Linked DNA regions of Homo sapiens: regions 2, 3 and 4 are each linked to region 1. The links are contacts of gene promoters, found by promoter capture Hi-C in blood cells and fetal thymus (Javierre and others, 2016). All regions are on one chromosome and are shown on one strand. The core of a region is centred on a gene start or on the middle of the fragment in contact, and the rest is flanking DNA. Distances in the headings are between cores, read along the strand shown.

What was found. The method cuts DNA at HindIII sites, captures the fragments that hold promoters and counts their contacts. A CHiCAGO score of 5 or more calls a contact.
Region 2: a fragment that was not itself captured here is called in contact with the fragment with the promoter of LCA5 in region 1 in 4 of 17 cell types (megakaryocytes, erythroblasts, naive CD8 T cells and 1 more); the score reaches 7.8 in megakaryocytes.
Region 3: a fragment that was not itself captured here is called in contact with the fragment with the promoter of LCA5 in region 1 in 3 of 17 cell types (activated CD4 T cells, monocytes and M1 macrophages); the score reaches 6.6 in activated CD4 T cells.
Region 4: a contact is called between a fragment that was not itself captured here and the fragment with the promoter of LCA5 in region 1, in 1 of 17 cell types (erythroblasts). The highest score is 5.4, in erythroblasts.

Annotation. Positions count from the first base shown.
Region 1 is chr6:79,533,793-79,539,052 of GRCh38, reverse strand. It overlaps LCA5 (lebercilin LCA5), which reads left to right and starts at 1,623. Exons shown (of 8, transcript NM_001122769.3): 1 at 1,623-1,888. It also overlaps a transcript of SH3BGRL2 not described here. RefSeq lists enhancers at 6-579, 1,110-1,159, 1,154-1,727. The HindIII fragment of the contact is 3,782 bases long and covers 665-4,446 here.
Region 2 is chr6:79,714,033-79,719,563 of GRCh38, reverse strand. No RefSeq gene overlaps it. Among named protein-coding and RNA genes, the nearest start is that of SH3BGRL2, 85 kb to the right of the region's middle. The HindIII fragment of the contact is 6,207 bases long and covers 199-5,531 here.
Region 3 is chr6:79,773,792-79,779,815 of GRCh38, reverse strand. It overlaps LOC124901349 (a long non-coding RNA gene), which reads right to left and starts at 1,968. Exons shown (of 2, transcript XR_007059655.1): 1 at 1,867-1,968; 2 at 1-1,781. The HindIII fragment of the contact is 6,716 bases long and covers 1-4,773 here.
Region 4 is chr6:79,696,745-79,702,657 of GRCh38, reverse strand. SH3BGRL2 (SH3 domain binding glutamate rich protein like 2) reads right to left here. Exons shown (of 4, transcript NM_031469.4): 4 at 1-3,160. The coding sequence ends at 3,149. Among named protein-coding and RNA genes, the nearest start is that of SH3BGRL2, 68 kb to the right of the region's middle. The HindIII fragment of the contact is 5,171 bases long and covers 363-5,533 here.

The sequences.
Region 1 (5,260 bases), core at 374-2,873:
TCCCAGCGTCTTAAATATTTTCTTGCTTACCAACAACTTCTTAACCTGTAGGTGAAACACAATGAAGGCACTAAATCCGAAACCACGAAATTTGGAAGCAGACCTAGGCTTGTACTCTGGCATTACTACTTACTACTTTCGTACCTTGTGGTAGATACTTTAACTTCTCTGAATCTGCTTTCTCAAGTATAAACAATGAATAACAATACCTGTCTGGAGTCATGAATGAAGATGGAATGAGATTACACTGCCTGGAGCATTCTGAGTGCTGAATAAATGGTGGTTTCATTCTCAGCTCTCCTTCAGCAATCCTGATCTGACGCTCCTGTGACAGACATTTGTCCACGTAAATACGGTATGTTTTCTGATTCTTCCTAGCAACTTCCTTTATAAGTAATCCACCCATACATTTACATGTTAATTCTAACAGAGTCCATAATAACGAGTGAGCTATTTTAACAGTGTCAGCAGAGACAGATTAAAGAATTGATGAAAAGTAATTCCGTGCAATTTAGGGATTACTCATCTTATTTTCACTAACAGATGACTGCCATCTTGTACAGATGTATTTCGCATACAGAAAATTACATTTAATCACAATATTGTTTGGGTGGGTTAGTCTGTAACTTGAAGTAAAATGTATTGACAGGATAAAATGAAAGCTTTGAAACAGTGCAAAGGTGGAAAAACGAGGTTGAGCGAGAAGCAGGAATTACCAATCTTCATGGTTAGAAGATTCATTAAACGCATTTGCCTTCAAATATTAGATTCTCTACAGAATGGTGGTAAAAAGGCCAGTGAGAAATTAACAATAGTGAGAACACCAGAGTAGTGTTAAACCACCTTGATAATCAGATGGCTCGGAGCAGTTTAAAGCCCTCACGAAAGAGGATTTTTTTTTACCTTCCCTGTCTCCCGCAATTAATGCCATTTCTAAAAGAGAAAATATGTCACACATCAGCGCTCAATAGGCTGACATGCTCCTCAAAACGTTCCTTAAAAAAAAAAAAAAAAAAAAAAAAAAAAAAAAAAAACTTGTGTGCAAATATTTCAGATGCCATTCCACCCCAAACCCGTTCCAAAACCTAAAAATCACTTTCAAGCCAAACTCACGGCTCGTTGGTGATTCACAGCCAGGATCTCGAGGCAGGAACAATAGTGCACTCACCCCGCATCCTCCTGAATCAGCCATTTCGGTAAGAAGATCCAGAAGCACTAGCAGTTTGTTTGTAATTTGTTTACAATTTAAAAGCAAGTTATTTCCCAAAGGAAATCTAAGCAATTGTTAAGTGTTTTACATTACGCAGTCGCCAATTTTACAATTCATATCATGAACCCACTTTGCCCTCCGCCCGCGTCCCTCTCGGAGCCCACGACGCTCAGCAGTCGAGCCCTGGCACCGCACAGCCCGTAGGAGCCTGGAGCGCTCCGCGTTTTGCCCCAATTTCCCTACTTGGGGGTCTCCGCTACAGCTAGAGCGGTCGGCCAATGGAGACCTTCTCCCGCACTCGCCGTCCCGCCTTCCAGTTCCACTGAAGCCAATAAAAAGGGCCGTCTGGAGACAGAAGCCAATGGGAGCTCGGGTAGAGTCATCATGATTGGCTGCGGTCTCTTCGTAGTGCAGTCTAGGCCTCCGCCTCCGTTACCCTGGAGCCCAGGTTACCGCCGCTGCCACCCAGGAGCCCCGATCCTCGCCTCTGTCCCATCCTTGTGTTCAAACCTCCCGCATCTCGGCAACCTCGGCACCCGCCCGGCAGCCTCCGCAGGAACCAGGCACCCGCTCTTTGGCGGTCAGACGCCGAGGCCCCAGCTGGGAGTTTGGTCCTAAGAGGGAAGGCAAGGAGGCGGGACGCCGCATCGGCTCTGCTGAAGAGCCTGCGGGTTGGAGGTGGGCTTTGAAGTGGGCGTGGAGACGGCGGGGGAGGTGGAGGTGCGAGGTGAGGCTGGGTTGAAGCGTCTGGTAGCTAGTGAAGGGGCGTTCGTGGATGGGGGCCTGCGGGTGGTTCTTAAAGCAGGGAAGATGAAGGGATTAGGGATGGGGGAGGATGTAGGGACCGCGAGGAGAAGGAAGACCTAGGAAAATGAGTAAAGAGCTCGGCTTCTGAGAGGGTCCCGAGGAAGGGAGGTTGACCGGCACTGGGGGGACTGGGAAGTTAGGAGGAGAGGAGCTGGGAAAGGGTATTTACTTCCTGGGACCGAGAAGAGAAGAAAGGGAGCAAGCGGATCTAGAGAAGTGGTTGTTATTAAAACAAACAAAACAAAAACCCCGGAGGCCCGTGGAGACTCAAGACTAGAGAGGAGGGGCAGGGCCAAGGGCCAAGACGGAAAAGGAGGCTTTGGTAGCTCTCGGATAATAATAGATGTGTTATTATTAAAACTGTGGTTAGAGTGGAAAGCCGTACTTGTCCAGGCTGTGATACTTCTATACATCCTTCAGGGATGGGATGAGAGGAGTAAAGATGGTTAGAAATAAAAGAAAAAAGAAAGTGCCTTTTTGGCATACTCGAGTTGGAGTCGGTACTCAGATACGTGATGTTTACGTTAGATAGACCGTGGGATAGTGTTTAACAGTGAAGAGCCCTGGTCCAGTTCATCTGATATAAACCCCTTTTTTGTTCACTTTGTTCTTTGGAAAGTATACTTGGGCACATACATATTTATTCCCCTCCTTTATCTTCACGTTAAGAACTTGCATTAGAGATATCTTTGCAATCAGAAGTCATCATTTAGTTTTTGGCAGAGGGAGTGGCTATATGTGTTTTAGAATGGTAAAACCGATGTTTCCAGTTCTTTACTCATTCCCTCTTTCTTTTGCATGGTTATTTTAATCTATGTTTTTTTCCAGTTGTTCCACATTTAAATTCTATATTACCATTTTAAATATTTCACTTTGTGATTTCCCATGTTAGCTAGTATGTTTATCCAAATAAGTTATAGGAAATAATAGTTTGTTTTGATTCTCTAAGTTGACAAAGTATCATTTTAAATATCAAAAAGTAGTTTGTGACTTTGGAAAAGAGATTTTTCTTCTTTTGTGAGTCACATCTCTTCCGTTACACATATTGTGGAACTATAATTCTGTAGGACACAATGGAAGCCCATTAAATAAAGATGCTACCCTTCTCTTGGGTTCTTCATCTGCCTGTCATTCTTCAACTCCTTTGTGGGATCTTCTTCCTCGGCCCACCATATTTCATTATTGTTTTTCCCAATAATCCAGTCTTCAGTCTTCCGTCTTCTATTTTTTACTCTGTGTTCTTGGCTGTGTTCTTCCTCTCCTTTGGCTTACACTATTTGTGTTTTATTAACACTCTCCCAATTTTTTATTTCTGATCTGGAACTTTTGAGTTACTGTCAAACTTTTGTAGCTAATTTTTGGTATTTCCACATAAATTTCCTATCCATAGGCATCCCAAACTCAGTATGTCCAATATTGAACCCATCACCTTTCCCTGCCAAAGCTGTCCTGCTTGAATACCACATTCTCCTAATTTTGCAAGCCCAAAACTTTGGAATTTACTCAAGTTCTTCTCTATTCTCAGACTTCATATTTAATCTGTCACCAAGTGTAGTTTATCTTACTTGAAAAACATTTCTGGAATCAGTTCCGTACTCTGTATCTCTAGTTATACTACTTTCAAAACACTGTCTGTCAGTGATTATCGAGACCAATTGATATTCTTCCTCCAGCTTTCCTGCCCTCCAATTCTTAGATTGGAGATGGATCCTTGCAAATGTCAGATCTGATAATATTAACCCTACTGAAGAGCCTTGGTTTCCAACCAACTTATTAATGACATAGAGATTCTTCTTGTGATATTATCTTCCACCCGATCCAGTCCCACTTATTATTACTTTAGCACTACTCCCCAGCCAGTGCCATCCTTTTAAACTAGCATTGTCCATTTGAAATAGAATGTGAGCTATATCCATTTTTTTCAGTAGACACACAATAAAATACAGGTGAAATTTTAATGTATTTTTAAGTCACATATATCCAGAATATTATTTTAGCATATGTCAATGTAAGAAAGATTATAGAAGAGCTATTTTATGGTCTGTTTTATGTACTAAGTTTTCAAAATTCCACATGTATTTTACACTTGCCGCATATGCCAATTCTGAATAGCTACATTTGAGGTGCTCAGGAGCCACTGTATTGGACAGCACAGTTGTAAAGTATTTGCAGTTTGGTGATATGCCATGCTTATCTAATGCCTTTTACTTTTGCAAATGCTGCATCCTCTTATTGAGACAGGGTCGTACTTCACTGTCTTCTTTTTCTAACCTCATTTACCCCCCCACTTTTCAAACACACACATCCATGAAATTATAATTGTGCTTAACCTCTGCTAATACCGTAAGACTCAATTTAGGCATTATCTCCTCTAGAAACCTTCTCAAACTCCCTCTGTCCTCTAATCTTAGTTCTGAGTTTACTAAGCTTTCTCTGCTTCCTTTTATCATTAGTACTTATAGACTGTCGCATTATTTTTTTTTCCTCTTGGTTGGGAATTACTTAACGGTAAAGGATCAGTTGTATTTTACTCATTTTTGTATCTTCAGCTCCATCTATAATCTAGCGCCTGACATTTCATAGGTGTTCAGTAAATGTCTTATAAATGAATAAATGAATGAATGAACATCTTAGGATGTTTTCATTTGACTGACTAAACTTTGGGAATATGTACTGTACTTAAGATGTTTTAATTTGATCCATTGTTTAAAATGTTTAAAATAAGCTGATTATGTCTTACATTTCAAATGTAGCATTTACTGTGATCTGATTGATCATATTTGATCATACTTTAAATCCAAACTTTATTTTTTGTTTTATTTTTAAATAAAAATAGTTTGATTTTTAAGCAAGATTATGTAGATAAGTAGTATAATAAGGAAAATGCTTATAAATACGTGGGGACATGTTATTAGAAGAAGTGGAACACTTTACTTCATTTCTCCTTTGTGGAAGAGGAGCAGTTACAGTGTAACTGCTCCTCTTCCACAAAGGAGAAAAACCAAATGTAGCAATATGGTTTTTACTTTTATCTCATCTTTTTTGCGGGGAGGAGAAATGTCCTTATTTATATCTTTCTCACTGAAGTTTATTTACATTTTATTTGCCTAGTTGTCTGTTTTGTGAACTCTTTTGCTGGTAGCAAAGGTAGCCAGTCAGCAATGTTTTATCTAAAGAAGCTGAGCACAGGGATATGTCAGGAAATTAACGGTTTGTTGATTTTACAGTTTTTTTTCTTAAAAC
Region 2 (5,531 bases), core at 2,053-4,552, 180 kb before region 1:
TGGTTAATTTTACACAAACATATGATCATGTAAGTATATTGCTAGGGCTTCCTCCCTAGACTTGAAAGAAGATTGCACATGAGGAACCCTGAAGCTTAACAATCATGATTAAGTTCATCTCTGCTAGTTATTAACCCACCACAGACTTCTTGGTTTCTCCAAAAAACATTACTTATCATAAGTTAATCTCTTCAAGCTTAATCAGTGAAACTGAGACTAGAATGACATAACTAAACTTGAAGAGCTTCCCTGAAGGTGCTCTAAGCTAAACTCAAATACCTATATTCAGAATTAGCTTGGGCAATTGTAAAACAGTAAGCATCACTTTAGTAATCTGAAACAGCAAATTCCAATTTGGGAGCAGATAAAGTTATGTAATTACTATGTTGGAAAGGCATGTTCTTGACCAAAGTGGAAGAAATCCTGGCACTCTATGCTGTTTCTGACTAGTTCCTTTACAAAGTACTTCAAGGCTTTGGCACGACAGAGAAATAAACTTCCATGTTGTGTAAGCCCTGTAACTGGGCTTTGTCTATTACTTGCAGCCCAAACTAACCTTAACTGCAAGAGGGTAGTATCAGGATTACCTGGGGAGCTTTGCTGAATTATCTCCTCCTCCATTCTGCCATCCTCCAACACATGGAGGGGCAGAGCTCTGAGGCCTGCTGCCGGGAAAGAGGAGTAAGAAGAGAAACACTACTTGGTGCAGTGAAACACACCACCCTAAAAATTTAGTGGATTAAAACAACCACAGTTTATTATAATTTTTCATGATTCTGCAGGATATATCAGCTCGGCTGGGCAGGTCAGTTCCACATGATGTCAGCTGGGATTTCCCGTGTGGGGAGGCTGGCTGGGTCTCTCCACGTGGTCTGTCACTATGCAGTAGTCTAGCCTGAGCTCCTTTACATGGTAGCTGGAGCCCAAGACAGTGAAAGAAAAGGCTGCCAAGTCTCATAAAGCTCAGGCCTAAAATTAGAACTTCCACCACATTGGACCGGTCAAAGTAAGTCACCAGGCCAGCCAGATTCTAAGGGACGGAAAAGAGACGTTCCCTCTTGATGGGGGAAGTGGTCTGTAGGTACGAGGTGGAAAAGTGTATTGGCAGCTGTCTTCGTAGACAGTCTACATGCCTAGAGAAGTAAAATGATTGCTACGAGGACAAAAAGTAGTAATGAAGTGGAATCCAGCTTTTTGTCCTTTTGGCACTAAGAACTCCAGTCTGTATCTGTCAGACTCCCATTCCTCTCCCTCCAGCCACTCAATCACTTGCCCTTGTAGAAAACTGAGAGTGCTGGGAAAAGGGGTGCCATCTACTCTCTGAGACTGGGCCAGCCAGGGTGGAGCAACCATGGCAATCATGTTCCACGGTCTAGCCTTCAGCAGTGCGGGCCTCCAAACTGAATGAGAAGTGTCAAGAGCACTGCACAATAAAAGAGTAAACATCATTTAATATAGTTGTATTATTTGGAGTGTGTTGTGTCTGTGTGTATGTGGTTTTGATATGTGATATATTTCTCACTGTGGCTCATAGTCAAAAAATTTGAAAGCCATTTGCTTAGAACATAGCAGGTGCTCAATATGTGTGGCTTTGTTTCCTGGGTAGAAGATCCCTGGAAGCATACATTTCTTTGAAGATACTAAAGAGTAAATTACTGTGATTTAAAAAATAGCTCAATGTAGCTCGCGGAATATGATAAATTAATACTTAATTAAGAACCTAATGAAGCCTCCCCAGTTTCTAATACACTAAAGAATTACACCTGGGAGTGAAATGCAGCGAGCTTCCAATACACTGTGTAGCATGAACAGCTGACTGAGAAGCTGTTAGTTGTATAAGACAGTAAGAAGGCTTAACTCCACATACCTGTTCTTAATGAGACAGCACAAAACTTATGTCGTTCTAAATGACCAGTTTAAAAAGAAGATTCACTCCTTTCTTTCATCCGTTTTCCTTCTGTGAAAATCTTTATAGAGCCTTAAGCATCTCTGATCTCCATTTTCTCAGTTTTTACCTTATTGCTGGGCTCCCCATGTTTCAGTGGGCTTTTATAAGATTTCTGCCAAAGCATCCTCATGTTTAAGTGGCTAAACTGCTTCCATGAGAGTCCTTAAAAATAACACCTGCTACTAGAATTATACGTGTCCCAACTTACATTGCTTTTAGTAAATTTCTCTGGCTACCACTGGCCCTATTCTATTTCTATTCACTATTGCTCAATTTCAGTAATTATTTCTGAATTTTTGGTACATTAATAATTAAGGAATTCTCCCCAAACTCCCAGAATGTCAAATCTAAAGAATATGCTCTAGTGTTCATTTGACCTGACCTTTCTCTGAGACTTTCTTCCCCTTGGCTTTCCATACAATGCTTTCTACTGGTTTTCCTACTTCTTCAGATTTTACTTCCTTTTCTGTTCTTCAGAGCTTCCTGAATTGTCACAGTCACGGTGCTGTTCAGTGGTGAAATTATCCACCTGACTGTTTCACCTGTGCTTCAAACAATCTCAGGATGTCCAAAAGGAGCTTCATTAAGCTCCCTGTTTTGGGTAATTGCATCTGTCAACCAAGCTAGAACATTTGAGTCCTTTACTCTCCATTTCCCCAAGAGTTAATAAGACATCTCCATGGCCATGACCCTAGTTCAAACTCTTATCATCCATAAATTAACTTTCTAAATGGTCTCTGAGCCTTTATTCTTCCCCACATCACCTTCTCCCATACCTCATCTTCTCTTCTCACTGCCAAACTCTGTGATTTCCTGAAAACACAAATGTGATTGCTTCACATTCTTACTTTAAATCCATCAATGCTTTTCAATATCTACAGGAGTGCTTCTCACACATTAATGTGACCCTGAATCACCTGGGGATCTTGTTAAAATGTGCTTCTAGCCTGGAGTGGAGTCTAGCAAGGTTCATGTGATGCTGCTGGTCCTCGGACCACACTTTGAGTAGTGGGGGTTTATAGGTTAATTTTCAAATCTTATAGTATAGCATACCAGGCTCATTACAATCTAGTCCATTGCCCAGAATACATCTGTGATACCTCTATCATGTGTAACCTTTATTCCACCTCGATCCCTTGCATATGCTATTGCCTCTGACCAATGCTGTCTCCTCCCAGCCTTCTTCCCCAGGAAACTTCCTTCTACTGATTAATTAGTTGGTTGATCATTCATTCATTCATCCATGATTGATCTTAAGAATGACCTCCTCTAACAAGACCTTTCCGGCAGACTCTCCAAGATAGAATTAGGTAAGTGTCCTTTCACTGTTTTAGTAGCACTTTCATCCTGGACACTTTTCAATTATATCATCTGACATAGACAATAATGGAGCTGCTTACACATATATGTTCCCCACCCTTACCCTGCAGCCACTCTGTGGTTCCTTGAGGGCAAACTCTATCTTACTCTCTTTGTTTCCTGCAGGTCCAGCACAATGCCTGGCACAAAATGAGCTTTCAGATATTTATTAAACTTTGTGCTTTACTTATGAAACGCCTCTCACCAACGTTGCAGGCAAGGGGTCTGAGTAGGTCAGGAGACTGAATTAATTGACCTTCACAATTTCCTAGCCACATTTCTTATATCTTTTGTCATTCAGGAAAATAGGCACCAGCTGTAGATTTGTCCATATTAAAAAGATAAAAATCAAATAAAATTTCCCTAATAACAGAGAAATAGATGTTTTACAAGCTGTTAGTATGAAATGGTTCAATAATATCACATTTGTTTCACATTTCTTAACAATTCACCTTTGGGTCTTTATCATGGTGATCTTTTTTTCTTAATAAAAATCTCACTAAAATTTTCATGAGGCCAGTGGTGAGAGAACAGAACTATATTAAGAGCCTTATGAAAAATATATTATACATCTTTCTCTAGAAACTGTCTTTTAATAATTTCATTGGATCATCAACTGCTTATCTTCATTCTAGCTTTGTAGCTCCTTTTTCTTTTATCATTAGAAGTGGCTAATAAAAAGGTAGATTAAAATACATTTGGCTGTTTGACCAGGTTTGAACATAATTTCCAACACCATGAACACTGGGAAGCAATGTTTATGTAAGAGAAGATCAACCTCCTCTTTTTTGAGCCCAGAACAGATATTATCAGAGGAAGAACAATCTTTCTTAACACAGTTGAGCCATTAGGTACAGTTTCATCTTCTGCCACTTTCAGCAACACAATCCAATATCTTGTTAATCATGGAAACTGCTGAGCTGTTTTATACATTTCTATACTTTAGCATATGCTCTTTGCTCTGCTTAAAACTCCCTTTCCACCCATCTGTCTAACTCTTCCTGATTTGTCAGACTTAAGTCAAATATCACTTGCTTGAGGTATGTGAACTGATTGCCTCAGCTGAGCTAGCCTCTTCCTGAGTTATCTGTAGTCTTTTGCACTGCCGGAAAATCTGATTTATTTGCATGACCCCAATCCCATCCCATCAGAGGCAGAGACTTTATATCTCCTGTGCCTGGTTACGTGTAGGCTTATATAATGCTTGTGGTAAGTGGGATATAATGCCTTTGCCCTCCTTCCCTCAAGCCCACCCCCAGAGAGATCACGTCCCAATTTCTGGCACTTGTGAATGCATCGCCTTACATATGCAAAAGTGACTTTGCAGATGGAATTAAGGATCTTGAGATGGGGTGTTTATTCTAGATTATTACGTGGGTGGGCCCAGTGTAATCACAGGGGTCCCTTTAAGATGCAGGTAGGAGTGTCAGAGTCAGAGTGATGCAGCCTTGAGCCAAGGCTTATAGGCGGTCTCTAGAAGCTAGAAAAGGCAAGGAAACGGATTTTCTCCTGGAGTCAACAGAAAGGAAAGCATCCCTACAGACACTTTGATTTTAGTCTGTGAGATTCATTTTAGACTTCTGACCTCCTGAATTCCAAAACATATTTTCGTTGTGTTAATTAAGCTACTAAGTTTGGGTATAGGAAACCAATAAGGTGCTCGATTAATGTTCTTTTGCAGAACGCATGAATAGAAAAGTGCCTCTGGGCTCATCTTCTCTGTCATTATGTTCTATCTCCCTGAGCAGCATGGAAAGCCCAGGTGAAGGGAACCCCAGGTGATGGCTCTCAGACCTGACAAGAAAGGTACCTTTCACACACCCATGGCTTCTGTCCCCAGCGTTCTGCTGGCCCAGCTAGCACAGCAGTGTGCTCCGCACTACAGCACTCCACCAAAACGCAAAGTCATGTTTATGTGCGTATTTTCTATTGCTAACCAATGCAAAATCCTGTGATTGGTGCTATAGGGAATCTTATGTGGTCTATGATTTATTTTAAAATTCTCTAGAACTCCTTGAGAATGAACACTGCAATCATGTGAATTGGAGCATAATGCCTCTGGCCATGGGCTCCTGCTCCCCGTCAGGTCTCCCCCTCCTTGTTCCCCCTAACAAAAGGAGAGGAATGCCCACCTCCTTCCAGAACCCAGGTTTCCTGACCCGCTTAAGTAACTTTCTGAAATACTGCAGCTTCCCCTTCCCCAGACCTTCATTTCCAATTTAAC
Region 3 (6,024 bases), core at 166-2,665, 240 kb before region 1:
ATCACTTGCTCGCAAGGCCACACTCTTGCCTTTATCATCATTTTGAACTATGCCACCAATGACATCTTAAATTCTACCAGAGACACCCAATGTTTATACACAGCATCCCCCACTCTCACAACTCCTACTCAGCCTCCTTTCTTCCTTGTCAGGACCTCCCAGTTCTGTCTGCCCTCCTGGACCACAGAATCACTCCCTTGAACCACAATTATCAGCACTTTCTTCACTTTCTTCCCTGGTTACCCCTCTGCCACACCCATGCTTCCACAGCCTCACCCAAACCACCTCATGCTTTATCTATTTTTGCTGCAGCATCCCATATACTCTGGGAGCAACATGGATATGCCAGCCACACTCCTGCTACATAGCCTTTATGCTGGCTGTTCTCTCCACCAGATTGCTTGTCCTCCGTAGCAACGTGGCCAGCTTCCTTCAAGTCTTTGAGGTCAATGAGAGCTTCCCTGAACACCTTATTTAAATTCTAAGTCACAAGTCCCTCACAACTTCTGATATCCCCTATCCTGATGTGTCTATTTCCACACAGCATATCACCCTCCAGCATTTCATTTTGCTTACTAATTAATCTTGCGTCCTCCCAATCTTCAGTCCTCCTCTCCTTCTAGTATTTAGGAAATACTGGAATATTTCCCAAAGGCAAGGAGTTTTTTCTATTTTGTTCACTGATGTATTCTCACCTCTTGAAACAATGTCAGCACACAGCAGATGTTCAATAAATATCTCTCAAATACATAAATGAGTGAACGATTGGTTTCCAACAACACATAGGCCCTCGTACAAGGCTCAGCCACCTGGCCTCTCCTTCTGCAGTTCTCTTTACCACCACACATGGGCTTTGCCCTTCATATTCTCCTTCTCATTTTCACATATGACATTTGTATCTATCTCATAATGAAAATAGGGAGGAAAACTGGCCGCAGGCCTGCTAAGTTCCCTTCCCTCGAAAAGCATTTTTATTTCTACCCACTTTTGCTCTGCCTTTTCTCCCTTTGCTCTGCCTCAGCAATAGAGGTATCGGGCCTTCCTTTCAAAGTCTGGCCCTTCCATCTGTGCTTCTGGTCATCTACCCTCCTATTTTTTTTAGAAGGGAGGGTGCTAGGTCCATTTTCTGGTAAACTAGTGGGGTTCGCCCCCTGAAGGAAGCACCATGCCTTCTGTGCGAAAAAATAGAGGATTTTCCACACTCTGGGGTTAGAGGGAAAAGCCCTAGAGAGGCAGGAGTTAGAGCTAAGGCGGCCAGAGTACGTGCAGCCCAGCGAGGGCCCCTTTGGACCCAGCCGTGGAGATTCTGAAAGTGTGCTGGGGAGGGTGCGAAGGTTGGAAGGTTCGGGTCGCTGAGTACCTGGAGCTCAGGCCTAGGAAGAGAGGGCACTGTCAGGACAGGGCAGAAAGCTCTGAAAGGAGTAAGCCACGGCGGGACTCCAGAAGAGGCAGGACGGCAGAACTCCAAACATCTTCTCTTCCTATGGCGCCAGCAGCTCTAGAGCAGGGGTCCAGGTGGAGCCCCGCCCCCGGCAACCTCACAGGAGTGTGCTCTTCCTACCTAGCCCCACCGGCCCCGACTTTCCACGGTCGGGAAGGCCAGCGGCCGCCAAAGACTTAGTGCCACCTTGTGGCCACAACAGCAACTGCAGCCGCGGAGCCCGGCGTGGGCGGCTCCCTGTCCCTCCTCCGCGCATGCTCAGGATCCGGTAACCCTGGGTTTGGGAAACCCCCGGGTGCTCAGTTTGATCGCAAAGAGGTAGAGAATGGAAGGGGAGAACCTGGGAAGGGATAAAGACATTATTGTAATAACGAAATGGAGACTCCGGCTATTCTGAATATTAAAAGAGATGTGCTATTTTATACCTGGCATCCTAGTGAAAAATGAAATCTCTCTTGGGTTTTTTGTTTCTCGTTTCTACCAGTTCCTTCCATCTCCCCCACCATGAACGTCAGCCAGTTCCCTTTCTAAGAAAAAGAAAAAAGAAAAAAATGTTACTGAAACTGCTACCCCTTGAGATCAGTCTTGTTTCCTTTTTCCTCTTTTTAAAAATTATGGTAAAATACCCGTAACAGAGAATTCACCATTTTAATGATTTTTAACAGTGTAAAGTTCAGTGGCGTTAAGTACATTTACATTTTTGTGCAACCATCGCCACTGTCCGTCTCCAGAACTTTTTTGTCTTCCCAAACTGCAATCCTGAACCCATGAAACACTAACTCCCCATTCCCTCCTGCCCTCAACCTCTTGCAACCACCGGGCCACTTACTGCCTCTCTGGCGAGTTCACTACCCATCAACCACAGCTTTGCTGAGAAGCCAGGATAGGGAAACATGTTCCCCCACTCCAATCTACATTTGTTTCTAAGTGGTGGTAGGCTTTTTAGGTCATCTTTATTTCTTCATGAAACTTCTCTGTGTTTTCTTTCTTTTTTCCAATAAAATTGCTATTTTTATTTTTAAAAACACGGATAACCTTTTGAAGAAAGAGATGGGTAGGTGTTTACTAAGCAGATGTCTGGGTGGGTGGGGAAGGGCATTCCAGGCAAAGGGAGCGGGAAGCACAGAGGGCTGGAGGGGGCATGAGGAGGGTGGCGTCTTGGTGGAGGGCAGCTTGGTCAACATGACTAGAGTTTGGGGATTACAATGAGGAAAGAGGAATCAAGATATCAGGCTGCCTGCAAAGTGGGCAGAAGTAAGATCTGAAAGGCTTTGTTTGCCACGTTAAGTAGTTGGCCTTTTTAGGCAATAGGAGAAAAAGGATTTTAAACAGAGGAGATACTTGAGCAAAGACTGCTTTAGAAATGAGACTCTAGTGTATGGATTGTAGTGAATGGATGGAGAGGGAGAAGGAGATGAGAGTGGATGCAAGTTAGGAGACTGCCACAATGGTCAAGGGGAGGAGTGCTGAGGGCCTGAGATAGGGAGGAGAGGCAGAGAGAGGTAAACAATTAAGAGAGGCATTAAGAAGGGGAACTGAGGGGACCAAGCAACTGCTAATCTATTAGGGAGTGAGAAGGAGAGGTATTTGGCTGGAGTGACTGAATGGATGGTGGTGTCAGGCACTGAGTTAGAGAATGGAAAAGCGAGAAGCAGATTTCGGGGAAAAGTCCATGAGTGCACTTTGGGACATGTTGAGTTCTGGGTTCCTGGGGGTCACCCAAGAGAAGAATCGTTAGGTACAGTGATTATATTTGCAGGTGGAGAGTTCATGAGAGATCTCTAGGCTAAAGATATAAATAAGGAGTCAAGAACATATGGATGGTGGCTGAAGCCATGAGAGTGAATGGGGCTACCAGGAAGAAAGCCCATGTGCACAGAGGAGAGAAGATACCTTAGGGCAAAGCTCTAGGGTATCTATTAAAGGTCTTTAGTTACAAGTAAAAGAAACCAGATGTAGTAACTGTAAGCACTGTATAAAGAATAACTTATTGGAAACCTGCTGCATAGGTCACAGTATAAACAGCTGAATACTCAGGCCGTGAGAGAACAGAGGAAGGGAGCTCCAGGGTCTCTGGGGAGAATTTGTGGCTTGCCATCTAGGCTGCTGCCATCAGCTGACCCACTTACAACTGCTCCCCACCCCCATGTGTCCGCACTCCAGACTTACATTCCTTGGAATGATCATCTGATTTTCCCTGCCTGTGTTAAATTTCCCAGCCTGAAGTGAGGGGATCAGGATCTTGTATCAATTCCCCACCAAAACCCCAGGAATTTTGAGTGAAACCAGGGAAGGCAACTGAGAAACAACATCTAGAGATGGAGAGGACCCAGGAGACAGCAGTAGTCTTGAAGCCTGGGAAGGAGTTTTAAGAAGGGAGGGATATGTTGTATCAGGTGCCACACACGGGGCCACATTTACCAAGATGAAGGGTAAAATAATAAATTAATTTGGCAACTAGGAAAGCATTGATAAGTTTTTCCCTAGCATATCTGGGGAGTACAAGGGATAGCTAATGGCAGTGGGTTGAAGAGTGAATGGAAAGAAAATAAATGGACTGAGTGTTAACCACTTTACCAGGGAGCCTGGTGGTCTCATGGGGGGAGAAAGATGGTAGCTACAAAGGCCTATATAGTAAGGACAAAGATTTGTTAGTGGCAGTGATGTGAACGTATTTCTAGCTTATAGGGAAGGAACCAATTGGAGGAAGATGTGGAAAGTGGAGGAAAACAGTCAAGAGAGGACTCCCGGCTTCAGTGAGGTGCCAGGGAGACACAGATCATAGGTTACTTTAAAGCAGACACATTTTCCTCTAAGATTGGACAGAGAGAGGTGAGGATGAGTACCTATATACAAGTATGTTGTCATCCCATTTTTTTTTTTAAGGTACCTGTCAGTGTGTGCCTGTACACAGAAACCACTGTATCAGAAACATGTCTGTATTTATTGTCACGTGACTAGATATGGTACAGGGCGTTTTAAGGCAGTTCATTTCTGAGCCTGACTCCCTCGGTTTTATTTCTCAAGTCAGACCCATAGTCATCTGCTGGCATTGTACAAGTGGCCAGGTGACAAGTAGTTTAGGGAAAAAATGTTCTATTTTAATGTCTATGTAGAAGCTATGTACTCTTTCATCATGACTGTGTCTCAGAGAAATGTATTCAGGCATTGTGTGACCTGCTAGTAAGATTAACAAAAACGTTAAGGGAAGTATAGCAGTCTAGGGAGTTGGCTATTATTAAGACAATATAGAAAAAATAAATGAAACTTTCAGAATAGACAGTCCAGGGAGTGATCATGGGAAAAGTTTGCCTAAGTAAGGAATGGAAGCTTTTGGGCCAAAGAAGGTCAAGAAAAGTTTAAGGCCAGGTTTTAGGAGATTGTCTAGGGCAGGGTATCATAGATGCCCACAGGGTTCAAGCAGATTCTACAAACGCAGGAGGCAGCTGTGCCTTGTCTTCCACAGCACATTGTGGAGACCACACAGAAAGGACTAGCATCAAATGTTTATGACCCAGAGACAGTATGGGCTTAGTGTGGCCAGAGCTTCCAGGTTTTCAAAAAAGCCAGATATCTGTATTTTATGCAAAAATCTCTTAATTTTTTAACAAATTGTAGGTTCATTTTTAAAAATTATTTTTAAATGCTTTTTAAAAAATCATTCTACAGGCCAAACTAACAACTAGTGTACAGGATTTTTCTCTTGAACCACCCATTTCCAACCTTGATTCTATATAGCTGTTCCTTATATTATAAATAGTGTGCTAGGATCTGAATGTTTGTGTTTCTTCAAAATTCAGATGTTGCAATTCTAACCCCCCAGGAGATGGCATTAGGAAGTGGGGCCTTTGGGAGGTGATTAGGTCATGAGGCCATGGAGCCCTAATGAATGGGGTTGGTCCCCAAATAAAAGAGGCCCAGAGAGCTGCCTTGCCCCTTCCACTGTGTGAGGACACAGGGAGAAGGCACCATCTAGGAATCTGGTAATGGGCCCTAAATCTACCAGCTTCTTGGTCTTGGACTTCCCAGTCTCCAGAACTGTGAGAAATGAATTTTTGTTGTTTATATGCAACCAGCCTATGACATTTTGGAATAGCAGCTCAAATGGACTAAGACATGAGTTTTTGGTTGTTTTTTCATTTGTTTGTTCATTTTTAGAGACAGGGTCCTGCTCTGTCACTCAGGCTGGAGTGCAGTGGCATGATCATAGCTCACTGCAGCCTCCAACTCCTGAACTCAAGTGATCCTCTCACCTCAGTCTCCCAGGTAGCTGGAACTGCAGGCAAGTGCTACCATGCCTGGCTAAGTTTCTTTTATTTTCTCTAGAGATAGGGTCAAGTCATATTGCTTAGGCTGTTCTCTAACTCATGGCCTTAAGCAGTCTTCCCACCTTGGCCTCCCAAAGTGTTGAGATTACAGGTGCAAGCCATCATGCTGAGACCTAGAAGATATTTTTTCCCCGACTTATATCCTGCCCTTGAGAGAAACCTACTGCTTGCTATTGTATTTGCCTCAACCTAGAGTCCTTTCTTTGTTACTGTAAGCCTTGGTTTAAATGGCGTCTTCATGTCTAGTCTTTTTCT
Region 4 (5,913 bases), core at 1,699-4,198, 160 kb before region 1:
CGATCTGTTTGTATTTTTACAATTTAATGTGCTGCTTTCATGCATGAGGTTCACAGGCAAGAGTAAAATCACAGCCTCTCAACTAAACAGAACTAAAATTAAGAGAGGTGTGAAAAATGGCAGGGAACAAACACTCCATTTTCAGAATATGTGTTTTCTGGAATTTATTCTCCTTTATGCTGAATATAAAATATGTGATTTCACCAATGCTTTAAGAGACAAACACATACAAGTTGAAATCTGAAAACAATAATTATATGGAGCAAAGTGCAGCCTGACACTTAACAAAAGCTGTTAAATGAAAAGTATCTCTAGAAAAAGCAAAACCCCTATAGTAAAATCAAACACAACAGAAAGAAGCTTTGGTACTTTTCAATAACGGGAGACAAAAAAAAGTTTAGTTTATTATTAAATTCATGTAATATAAAAACATCTATGTGGAGGTATTGAATTAAATCTATAAAACAGAAACAAATCTAGAATATATTAGAATCTGAGGTGAAAAAATACCTTGCTTTCCTCTTCTTTGATTGTAATAAAACACCGGAATTTGGAAAAACAAGTATTTTCCCAACTAAATTTTCTTCTGGTCTGTACTCACCTAGCAGGATGGCACTCCATATTTTATCTAATTTTAAAATGGCATAAGTTGATTTTTAGCAGCACATTTCCTTTGCTCCAGCAAGCCTACTACAGGAAATAAAAATTCTGTCTTGAAATGCCCTTGATATGAAATCTATGCCTACAATTCCCATCCACTTCTTTCCTAGTATTTTAAGACTGTGATTATCAAAATCTAAAGGCAGCTAGTTAAAGAAGGGAACAAGAAAATCATTATTATATGTTTCAAAATCAGCTGATAAAAGAATACAAGTAAGGACCCCATATTCTCTGAGCTAAGTGTGGTCCCAGAGGGCAACATCTTGGTACTCTGTGGAGCCTGGGTACCATGTAAATGCCACACACTGTGCTGCTGCCTCACTCATAACAAGTACAGCACCACTCGAGACTGGTCTCCTGTATTTCTTTGCTGATCAAAAAAAAAAAAAAAAAAATGGGGTGGGGAGATGGCACATAACTGTGATGGTAATTTAGCATTACTACCCACTAGTCTGTTTACTATAATCATAATAGGTATACTACGGTTAACTCAAAAATTATAATATAAGACAAATCTGGGTAGCTTTGTCTAGCAAGTATGGTATTGATCCTATAACCCCAGCAGTTAACTTGCAAAGCCTCAACCTTACCAAGTTGGTTCTTGGCACTCACTAGCAAGAGTAGACTAAATGTTAGCTGAGTAATGAATTACAACATGACAATTTTTACAACTGCTTAAAAAGAAATTCTGAGTTTTATCAGAAGACTCACATACTCAAACACAATATCCAGTTAAAAAAAAATTCCTGGATAGTCCCTGGGATTTGTCAAATGGAATTTGACCTGGATCTTACTTAATGACAACTAACCAGTAATATCCATAATTTGACAACAGCTTCCCTTGAAGAGAAAATTGTGGATCATGTGTCCATTCTAGTTAAGTAGAAATCTGTCATACTTTCCTTCTGGTTGTAATCCTGGACTACAAATCTCAGGTTGGGATTTCAGCCTTAGCATTCAACAAGTTCTTTAGTCTACATTTAGCAAGGCATGGGGCGGAGTGCTGGGCACATGTGACAGGGCTGTAATTCTTCTGCTCTTTCAATTTCTTATAAATTTCCTGCTCAGAATTATAATGAAAAGTCCAGAATCAGGATGCTAGAAATAAAATATTTTAGGCAGCCCTCTGAAAATTTATCCTATTCAAGGCTGTTCCCATGTTTGGCAATTTAAAACTCTAAGTTAAAAAAAAAATTAAGCATCCCTGTTATAGGGACAAGAATGCAGAAAAATAGCCTCTGCTCTAATGAAGTAGATATGTTCGATGTTCATCAGCATCCACTCCAATAGGAGTATAGATTTTGCTTGACAAGTACAATTCCGGGTTACTCTCTTTCTCATGTGTGTTGCTCTGAAACCTTACTTGTGCTCATATACGGAATGAGAACAAGTATCTGTATTACTCTGAAAAATATGAGGCTGTACATTGGCCAGAAATATGAGCAAGCAAAATTAGAGGCAAATGAAAAGTAACAAAAGGAAAAATTAAATTTTACTACAACATTGGTATATTTTAATATGTCTAATCAAGGGTTCACAAAATATATCTAACTGAGATTTTCCTTTCTCAAAAAATATAGTCCCTTCACAAAATAGAAGCAGCAGCTGTCTGTTAGGGGAGCTGGATTAAAAAATATATGAACTTATATATTATAAATAAATTGCTAGAGCTGAAAATGCCTTCAGATACTCGTCAGATAATTTTCCTATATATTCACTAATTAGTGCACCACTTAAAATATATCTTTCAAGCAGTCTCAGGCATTTGGGTGAAACTTGCCCCTTGCAAGAAATAAAGAAGCATATATTTCAAATAGCAATTATTGTCATCCCAGTAACTTAGTTCTGATCACTTGATGTTACAACAGGGATTTCTGGAAACATCTGTAGGATAATATGTGGAGGTAAGAGTTTCCATTACTAAAACAAGTCTAGAATATCTAACTTTTTCACCAGGTGTTATTACAAAGCATGGGAACTGTGATGTTTGTAACTGATTCTGCAGCAAAAATCTTCAACACCCTTTGTCAACCAGCGCTGCTTTTTTTCCTTCTGATTCAAAGATTCTAACAACTTGGCAGACATATTTCAAAGGTGCAATCCAGGCAGCTTAAAGAGAAGTGGGTTTACGCAATTCCGGCATCTACTATAACCTAGGGCAGATCCAACATTTTCTCTCTGACGGTGCTACCCACTTATCTTTCAGTCATTAAGAAAGTACACCTGTAACAGGTGACGGTATTTCCAGGTGAGTGAGGCAACTGCAGGCAAATAGAATAAGAAAAAAAAAATCCACCACCTGATTTGGTTTAAAGCAATCATGCAATTCTCATTATAGCCACATCTTTCAAAAACACCTTTTCCGTGGCAAGCAAAGTTACTGATAATGCGTGTGGCTTTTGTCACAGTGATGCATTAGGTAAGCATGTGTGTGCTGAGTACCAGGGGTGCTTCAAAATGCATCTCCGTCATCTTCCACTCTTCTTCTCTAAGGTTCTGCCTATAAAAAAAAAAAAAAAAAAAAAAAAAAAAAAGTCAGTTATTGCATTACATCGACAAGAAAATTCACCCTTGGCAGGGGTTTTTTAAATGTCAGGAACAGAGATGTTGGAAATCATAACAGATCACCTCCATGTGATTGATAAGAGAAAATCCTGGGTTTCAGCATCAGAGCCCAGATTTAAATCACACCCACCCGACCTGCCAAATATAAAAGTGGAAAGAAAGCCGCATGTTTTCAATGACCTACTGAGATTCCTCTCAGAGGTACTGTTCCACTTGTGTATGGCTGGGTGGGGGGTTACCTTGCTCAGAGGGCCTGCAGAGATGCCCATTAATAGCAACCCAAGATGAAGAACCACTCTAGAACGACCATATCTGTTAGTAAAGAGTCGCTGCCCCAGTCCCCCAACTGCCACCCCTGCGCACCCTCCCCCTTGAGCCAATGGATAAAGAGCTGACATCTGGCACAGGGGGCCTCTGTGGCCTGCTCAAGCTCTGGCCAGTCAGCACCCAGTGTTGACCGGTTGTTACCTACTTTGGATATTACCCCTGAAAGCTAGGGATCTGAAAGTACAATCTTCTATGACAGGCCCTTCTTGGGGTCTACTAAATTTTAACTTTGATGGTTTTCTACCTAAAAAGTATCGGTGAAATGGCCTCCCTTTCTCAGAATTAGTTGGCTATCACAATGGGCCAGCCACTGTGGGCTCCAGCCAACTACAAGGGAAACTGAGATCCCCCCACCACCCCCACCAGGGATTCCATACCATCTAATATTTACATACTTTAAAAAACCTCTTCACAGGACAAACAACATATCCAGGGCCAATGTGGCCTGCAGGCCACCATCTAGAGACCTCTAACCTACCTTTGCCCCTCCCACTATGGAGGGCAGCCCAGTCAGAGCCTACACTGCACCTGGGCCTGTTGGGCCCATGAATGTCCTCTCCTACCAAGTAAGAGCAATTATAGGTGCTAATGATGTCTTTATGTTTCCTGATAGGCTTTGTTGCCATGTTTTTTATGTGTGTATACTACACAGGGAGTAGGAAAGGAAAAGAGAAAACAGGGCTTTCATCTTTTAGTACATTAAACCTGTGAACACTCTGTCAAAGCCTTAGACTATAGACTGTATGATGAATCACTACCAAGGTAAAAAATAGAAGATTAGAAGAGAGAAAATGCTAAATTGTTCTTGAAGACATTTTCACTTCTCTCATACGACGATGAAGTATGAGTTACTATTAGCTTTTAAAGCCCTAAATGGTTCATGGAGAGTGGCACAGACCTTGTGCTATGGACATCTGCTCTGGTCCCAGATACTCCTGTCCAGGTATAACTGATTTAGGTCCCTGAAAACGGTGGGCTGAATGGGGGCAGTGTCCAGGGCCCTCACTACCTTTAGGATGGTCCCCTGAAATCAAGTTAACTTCAGTGACACCAAGATCAACTTTAATACTGTGGCCAAAAGCCATGTGAGAATGTATATTTCATAGACCATAGATTTCCTGAGAAACTGGTGAGAAAATACATTTCTTTGAAGAATAAAGAAGTCAGCCCACAGTCTCTAAAGAATTTACATATTTGGGGAAAATGGGAACAAGCAGTATTTTTTAAAAGGTTTTTGCATAGACAATGATGCCCGCTGGATTTATGTATCCATTAGACTACTCCATCCTAGTTTTTTCCAGTTCTTTGAAGATAAATCTGGACTTTTAATATCTCTGGATGAAATACGTTATAAAAATACTCTAATTTTCCTAACAAGTATTCAAATGTTCCATCTTTATAAAAGCAGTTTTAAGAACCTTTAAATACGGCATGCGTGGGTTTTGCCTCTGCTTAAAACATGTGCATGGAAACCACCCACAACCATCTGTGGACTAACTGATGTAAAAACAAAGCACGATTTCACATTGGCTATGCACTGCAGATGCTGGTCTATAATTTATGTTATTGAGGGTCCCTGCCTTCTTCCTACAGGTATGCCAGAGATGGTACAAATCCTGGGTAGCCTCAAAAGACCTACTATTTTAAGACATCAAAGTTCTAGGAAATGTACTTTTATTTCGGTTGTGTTAAAAATAGACATATTAGAATTCAGTCTCAATTTGAAACACTCAAAACTTCAATTACTATGTATACAAAGACTGCAAGGAAACACAAAAAATGTCAATGTGGTTAGCTCTGGGTGGTGATTTTAGTTCTTTGTTTTACCCTTTTTTAATATTTTCCCAATTCAAAAAAAGGAGTCTAGGCTACTTTCATAATCAGAAAGAAAATGTGTGTTTTAAAAAAAGAAATAATATCAAAATAGTACCTTACTTAATAAAGAAATGTTTTTTCTTTTTTGAAAGTGAATCTATAAGCTTAATAAAGTTGTGATAACACACATCATTTCTAGTTCTAAACATGAGAAAATATTGGCTCCTTTATGTTTTCTAAAAGACATATGACTTAATAAAAAGTGGCTTCAAAATATTTTGATTAAAGAATTGAAGATTTTTTTCAAGGTTGACCATTTATTATTATAGACCATCTCTTCTCCAATGAAAGTAAATTTAAAACACCTTTAAATATGACTCTGAGTCTGCTATTTCAAAAAATGTAAAGTAAAAAAATTTGCAATTTTAAACAGAAAGCACCTACTAGTTTTTGCTACCTTAAATTCTTGGAGGAATGGGGTATAAATTAAAAATAAGGTAATATTCTAATTTATAGCAACAACTGAAGAATTGGGGGGAAAAACAA